Linked DNA regions of Homo sapiens: region 1 is linked to region 2. Evidence: promoter capture Hi-C in human tissues and cell types (Jung and others, 2019). All regions are on one chromosome and are shown on one strand. Each heading gives the region's core, a stretch centred on a gene start or on the middle of the fragment in contact. The rest is flanking DNA. Distances are from core to core; before and after follow the strand shown.

Evidence for each region. Contacts are between HindIII fragments. The study calls those that stand out against the background at their distance.
Region 1: a fragment that was not itself captured here is called in contact with the fragment with the promoter of S100P in region 2 in 1 of the 25 tissues and cell types used here (dorsolateral prefrontal cortex).

The regions. Positions count from the first base shown.
Region 1 is chr4:6,251,743-6,254,630 of GRCh38, forward strand. No RefSeq gene overlaps it. Among named protein-coding and RNA genes, the nearest start is that of WFS1, 17 kb to the right of the region's middle. The HindIII fragment of the contact is 7,012 bases long and covers 1-2,888 here.
Region 2 is chr4:6,692,571-6,695,405 of GRCh38, forward strand. S100P (S100 calcium binding protein P) reads left to right here and starts at 1,308. Exons shown (of 2, transcript NM_005980.3): 1 at 1,308-1,500. The coding sequence starts at 1,363. RefSeq lists enhancers at 1-529, 839-1,575, 1,576-2,311. The HindIII fragment of the contact is 18,883 bases long and covers 1-2,835 here.

The sequences.
Region 1 (2,888 bases), core at 283-2,782, 440 kb before region 2:
GGTTTGTGCCCCAGAATTTGCCAGGGAAATAGAACCAAGCCCCAAGCTTCTGTCTCCAGAGATAAGATGGCCTTCTCTTCCTGTCATTTAAGGCCCTGGGAGGCCCTAGAATTTGGAGTGTCTGGCAGGCCTGGACTGTTAAGGTGCCCAGCATTCCAGAGGCGATGGCACATTTGTCTGTGTCAAGGAGGCTCTGGGCATGGGTAGGGAGGTGCGAGGTAAGAGAGGGCAGAGCTGAGGGCACAAATCCAGCCATTTCACAGATGGGGAAACCAAGGTTCAGAGGAGGACATGGCTATAGCCCAGGTCCCTGTAGCCCGGAGTCAGTGGTGGAGCCAGGACTTGAACTCAAGTATTGGAGTGCAAAAGGCAGCAGCCCAAATGCTGACGGCATCCTAGCGAGGGCTCTGAGCCCTGGAGTCGAGTGGGTGCTTGTTGCCTGGGTCTCTGGGGGAGCTCGCACTCCCTGGCATTCTCATGGGCACCTCCTGCCCCAGGCAGAGCTCCAAGCCTTGGCCAGCAGAGCAGGACAGGCCTGCAGGGGCTGCCCACGGACCTAGTGTTCTCGGGGTTTCTGCCAAGGTAACAAGAGCAGGGAGGGCTCCCTCCCCACGCTGGATCCTGTCCAGTCCTCTGCTTGGCTCCAGGGGCACTAACTGGGACCCTCAAGCCTGCTGGGCCACAGTGGTAGGCCATACCATCCCAGAGCATGGCTCTGACCAGGCCACTCCCCTGCTTAAAGCCTCTAGGGGCCGGGCACAGTGGCTCAAGCCTGTAATCTCAGCACTTTGGGAGGCCGAGGCGTGCGGATCACAAGGCCAGGAGTTCGAGACCAGCCTGGCCAATATGGTGAAACCCCATCTCTACTAAAAATACAAAAATTAGCCAGGCGTGGTGGTGCCCACCTGTAATCCCAGCTACTCGGGAGGCAGGAAAATCGCTTGAACCCAGGAGGCAGAGGTTGCAGTGAGCTGAGATCCCACCACTGCCCTCCAGCCTGGGCGACAAGAGCAAGACTTCATCTTGGGGGAAAGAAAAAGCCTTTAGAGGCTCCCTATTGCCTGGGTGATACAGCAGGTGGCATCCTCACTCCTCAGCCTGGTGTTCAATGCCTTTGGCTTGGGACCCACCCTCCTTGGCCATGCACACCAAGCTGTCCTGCCCAAGGGCATCTCTTGCTGGGCCCACCTAAGCCCACGCATGCCCGCCCACCTCCCTCTTTCCATCTCTATTTATAGAGCCCCTGCCGGGTGCCAGGCAGTGCTCTAGGCACTCGGGGGCAATGGTGAGCAAACGGAGCCCTCCCTCTTTGGACTCATGTTCTAATGGGAGGCAGGCGAAGAAATCAACAGCTAAGCTTATGGCACCCAGCAGGGAGGAAGGAAGGGGGACGGGATGGGAGGGCTGCAGTGTCCCCTAGGGTGGCCAGGGAGGGTGTCTGAGAAGGTGGCACATGTGTTGGGATCATGAACTCTGGGCGTGGCTGTGTAGCATCCAGGCAGAGGGAACAGCAAGTGTAAGGACCTGAGGCAGGAGTAGGCTCAGCATGTTCCAGGACCAGCAAGGCCAGCTTGAGGCCAGTGAGCAAAAAAACAGTGGAGGTGGGAGATGGGGCCCACGGGTGACACCGCCAGGCCACGCAAGGCCTTGGGGGCATTGGAAGGACTTTGGCTTTTACATTGAGAAGACAGAGCTCCTGGAGGGCTTTGTCCAAGGACTGATGAGCCCAGACATCACTGGCTGCTCCGGTGAGCCTGGAGGGCAGACAGGGGAGGAAGTGGGGAGACCATGGGAGGTGACCCGTTTCCGTAAACCTGAACCCCTGCAGATGCCATTCCATCTACCTGAGCCCCTCCCTGCAAGCTGTGTTCGGAGAACGCCTATATGTTCACGAAAGCTAAGCTCAAATGCCACGTGCCTGCTCCTTCCTGCACCCCAGGTAGAAACACCCTCGTTTGCCTCTCAATTCCCACTTTCTTTGAGCACTGTTTTTGAAAGCACCTGCTTTGTAGACCCCTACAGAAATTCTCACTTGTGAGCATCTCCTGCTCTGGTACCAGATGCTGAGCCCTTGCAAGAGAGCAGGGAGCTGGGCTGGTTTTGCCATCATGGAGCAGTGCACCTGGCCTTCTGCACAGGCCCCCAAGCCACCCAGCAGGGCCTTCTGGGTAGCCTCACCCAGACCAACGGAATCAAAATCTGTGTTGGGGTGGGGGGCTTGAGCTTCTGCTTTTAAAATTCTTCCAGGGGTTTGGGTTAATTTGTCTCCCTGGGGCTTTGTGTTAATTTGTCTCGCTGGGAGTAGGGCCCAGCGAGATCGTCCTAAATTCAAATCCTGCAGCAGCCATAGTAGCTGTGGGATGTGGTCACTTAATCTCGCTGAGCCTCGGTCCCTCTTCTATAGCCCCAGGTGCCCAGCAGGCCGACAGAGGCTGTGGCCGCCTCTCCCACCTCTTTGAATTGGGCTGAGAGACAGACGCGCACCTTCCGGAGAGGACCGTCAGGCTGAAGAAGACACAGCTAGTGTCTAACGGGAGGGTAGGTTCTAAGGAAGTGAAGATTTATGAGAGAAATGAGTGAGTGTGATCATGTGTCTCATACCACAGCGTGTGAGTCCGTGCAAACGCCATGTCTGTCCCCTCTCAGGAGAACCCTCTCTCAGAGCTATGAAAATCCTTACCTTGCCTCATTCAGACTCTCAAAGTCTGAACTCTGTCACTTTAGAGCACAGGACTCAAATGTGACTGTGCTCAGGAATCAGATGGGGGTTGGGTTAACATGCACATTCCCATGGGCAGGTCCAGGGCAGGGCCCAAGATTGCATTTCTAGCTCATCCTTGGTGATGCTGGCACCACTGGTCCACAGATGGCACTTTGAGCAGCAAGAT
Region 2 (2,835 bases), core at 58-2,557:
ACACTCTGGAAGATCTCTGCTGAGAGAGAGGCCTTTGAGTGTGGGCCTACTTTGACCGGGGCAGGATGTGAACACAGGCCCCTACCTCCATGCTCTCCAGGACTCGCTCAGCCTCCCAAGCACAGACCCTCTGAGTACCTCCGCTATAGAGACGGGGAGGGGTGTGACTGTCCCTGACTCTGCCCAGAGTCCCAGGAGCCTTTGTGCCGTCTAAGCCCTGTGGGTGATTTGGGTTTGGTAAGTGCCGGGGCTCAAAAAACAACACCCCAACGTGGAAGCCTCAGAAACAAAAGTTTCTCTGTCCTGCTCCCACCCTCCTGTCTCCAGCTCCTCCTCCTCTGAGAGGCTTCCCCAAACCCTGCCATAAAACCCAGAAATATGACTCCAGTTCTCCACTCCCTCCCCTTTCTGTGTAGAAACCAGCCTAAAGAAACCCTCTGGCCTGCTTTATTTGACTGTAGGTCATAAGAGCTCCATTCCAGAAAGAGTCCTGCCCCACACCTAGAAGGAAGGAGAGCTGCTCAGAGAGGCCCCAGGGAATCTGACTCAACAGGCCCTACCAGGCTCTCCTCTTGGTCTGTGAGCATCCAGCCTTACTTTTGTATCCAATCATATTTCCATACTTCGCTGAACTGTGTTTATGGATAGTTTCCACCAGATCTTTGGATCTTCATCTTGAAGGCTGCCGTGCCACATAAGCTATGATCAAATACATCTGTTATGCTCTTCTCCTATTCATCTGCCTTCTGCCCGTTGATTTTCAGCAAACTCCCAGAGGATGAAGGGGAGTTTTCTGTTTGGCCCCACAGGGGAGGAGCGAGCGAGATTGACGTGGAAGCTGGGCCTCTGAAGGACACAGAGTGCTCTAAGAAAGGGACGATGGGGCAGATCCATGTTCACAAACACGCCCATGTGAATTCACTCTCAGATGTCTCCTCGTGTCAGCACGCTGGGTGCCAGCACGCTCTGATATTGACACAAAGGGCCACGGAGTCACCACTCACTCCACACACACTCACCCCGTGCCCACTTACCCAGGGAGGGCCAGGAATGAGGATGCCACTGTGGCTCAGTGATGGCGCCGAGACACAGGTGAACACTGTAAAATGTGGATGCCTGGAGGCAGCCCACACCCTGGGCCTTGGCTGGGGGAAAGGTTCCAGAAACGTCATCACAACGATGCATTTCATCAGAACTGAGCACATGAATGGGGAGGGGCAGGACTTCCTGAATGTCCCAACCCCACTGTCCCACCCTCTGTGTCAATATGAGGCTGCCTTATAAAGCACCAAGAGGCTGCCAGTGGGACATTTTCTCGGCCCTGCCAGCCCCCAGGAGGAAGGTGGGTCTGAATCTAGCACCATGACGGAACTAGAGACAGCCATGGGCATGATCATAGACGTCTTTTCCCGATATTCGGGCAGCGAGGGCAGCACGCAGACCCTGACCAAGGGGGAGCTCAAGGTGCTGATGGAGAAGGAGCTACCAGGCTTCCTGCAGGTGAGCCAGGCCGGCAGTGCTGGACTCAGCGGGGGCTGGGGAAGAAGGGGAAGGCGTGGCAGGCAGAGGGCTGAGAGCTGCGGTGGGGTCGGCGGTCAAGGGGCTCAGAGGCAAGAGGGACAGATCCTGAAATGCCCTGGAAGCCCAGCCAAGGAACGGACCCACCCTGGCATAAAGGCAGGGGAGGCGGGAGCATCTGAGCAGGGAGAGGGTGTGGTCAGCTTGATCCTTGAAACATGGGGTTGACCCCAGTGTATTTGTGACAGGCCTGGTGGGAGAGTGGGACTCAAACCTGTGCAGTGGGGGCAGGGGCGGAATGCAATCCAGGGCTGCCATTTGCAAGTTTGCCAAGCTTGCCAAGCCCTTGAGCCCTCGGGGCTGTCCTCCAAGGCTGCCGGCCATAAACGCCCCAGCTCTGCCTCCCACTTGCCCGCTTTCCCTGCTCCCATTCCCAGGCCCCTTGTTGCCTGGTATTAGTGGGTCTGGCAGGAAGGACGGGAGGAGGCTCCATCCTGGCACCTGTCTGCGCAGAGCTGTGGACCTCCCTTGGGCTCCCTGCCAGGGAGGAGCCACCGGCCTGAGCCTCACAGAAGGCCCCTCAGGGCGGCCAGGACCAGCTTCCTTCCGCCCGGGGCAGCCTCCGGCTGGGCTGAACAGAAGCCGTACCCTCTCCATTTCCCCTTCCCTTTGACCCCTGTCCTCTCCTTCTTTCTCACTCCCCCACTTTCTTCCTTCCTTCCCCTCCCCTTCGGGCCCCACCAGACTCTGCCTACCTGCTAAGGGGCTAACCCACATAGATGCTGATAATCAAAAATGAAAGCCTGAAATTTTCAGCCCTAGAATCACTTCAAAGACATGAAACACTTCAGAATATTGCTTCTATTTTCTTTTCTTTTCTTTTTTTTTTTTTTTGAGACAAGATGTCACTCTGTCACCCAGGCTGGAGTGCAGTGGCAGGATCACGGCTCACTGCAGCCTCGACCTCCCTGGGCTCAGGTGATCCTCCCACCTCAGCCTACCGAGTAGCTGGGACTACAGGTGCATGTCACCATACCCGGTTAATTTTTGTATTTTTTTTAGAGACAAGGTCTCACCATGTTGCCCAGGCTGGTCTCAAACTCCTGTGCTCAGGCAATGCGTCAGCCTCGACATCTCAAAGTGCTGTGATTACAGGCGTGAGCCCCGACACCTGGCCTAGTTCTATTTTCTAAATGTGAATTCTGTAAAGATATCTTTTAAAAATAAAGTTCTGTTTTTGGTAGAAAATGTAAAAATAGATAAATATGGAGGGAAGAAATCCCCCCTGGAATACAGACGCTTCCTCTCCCTTCCAGC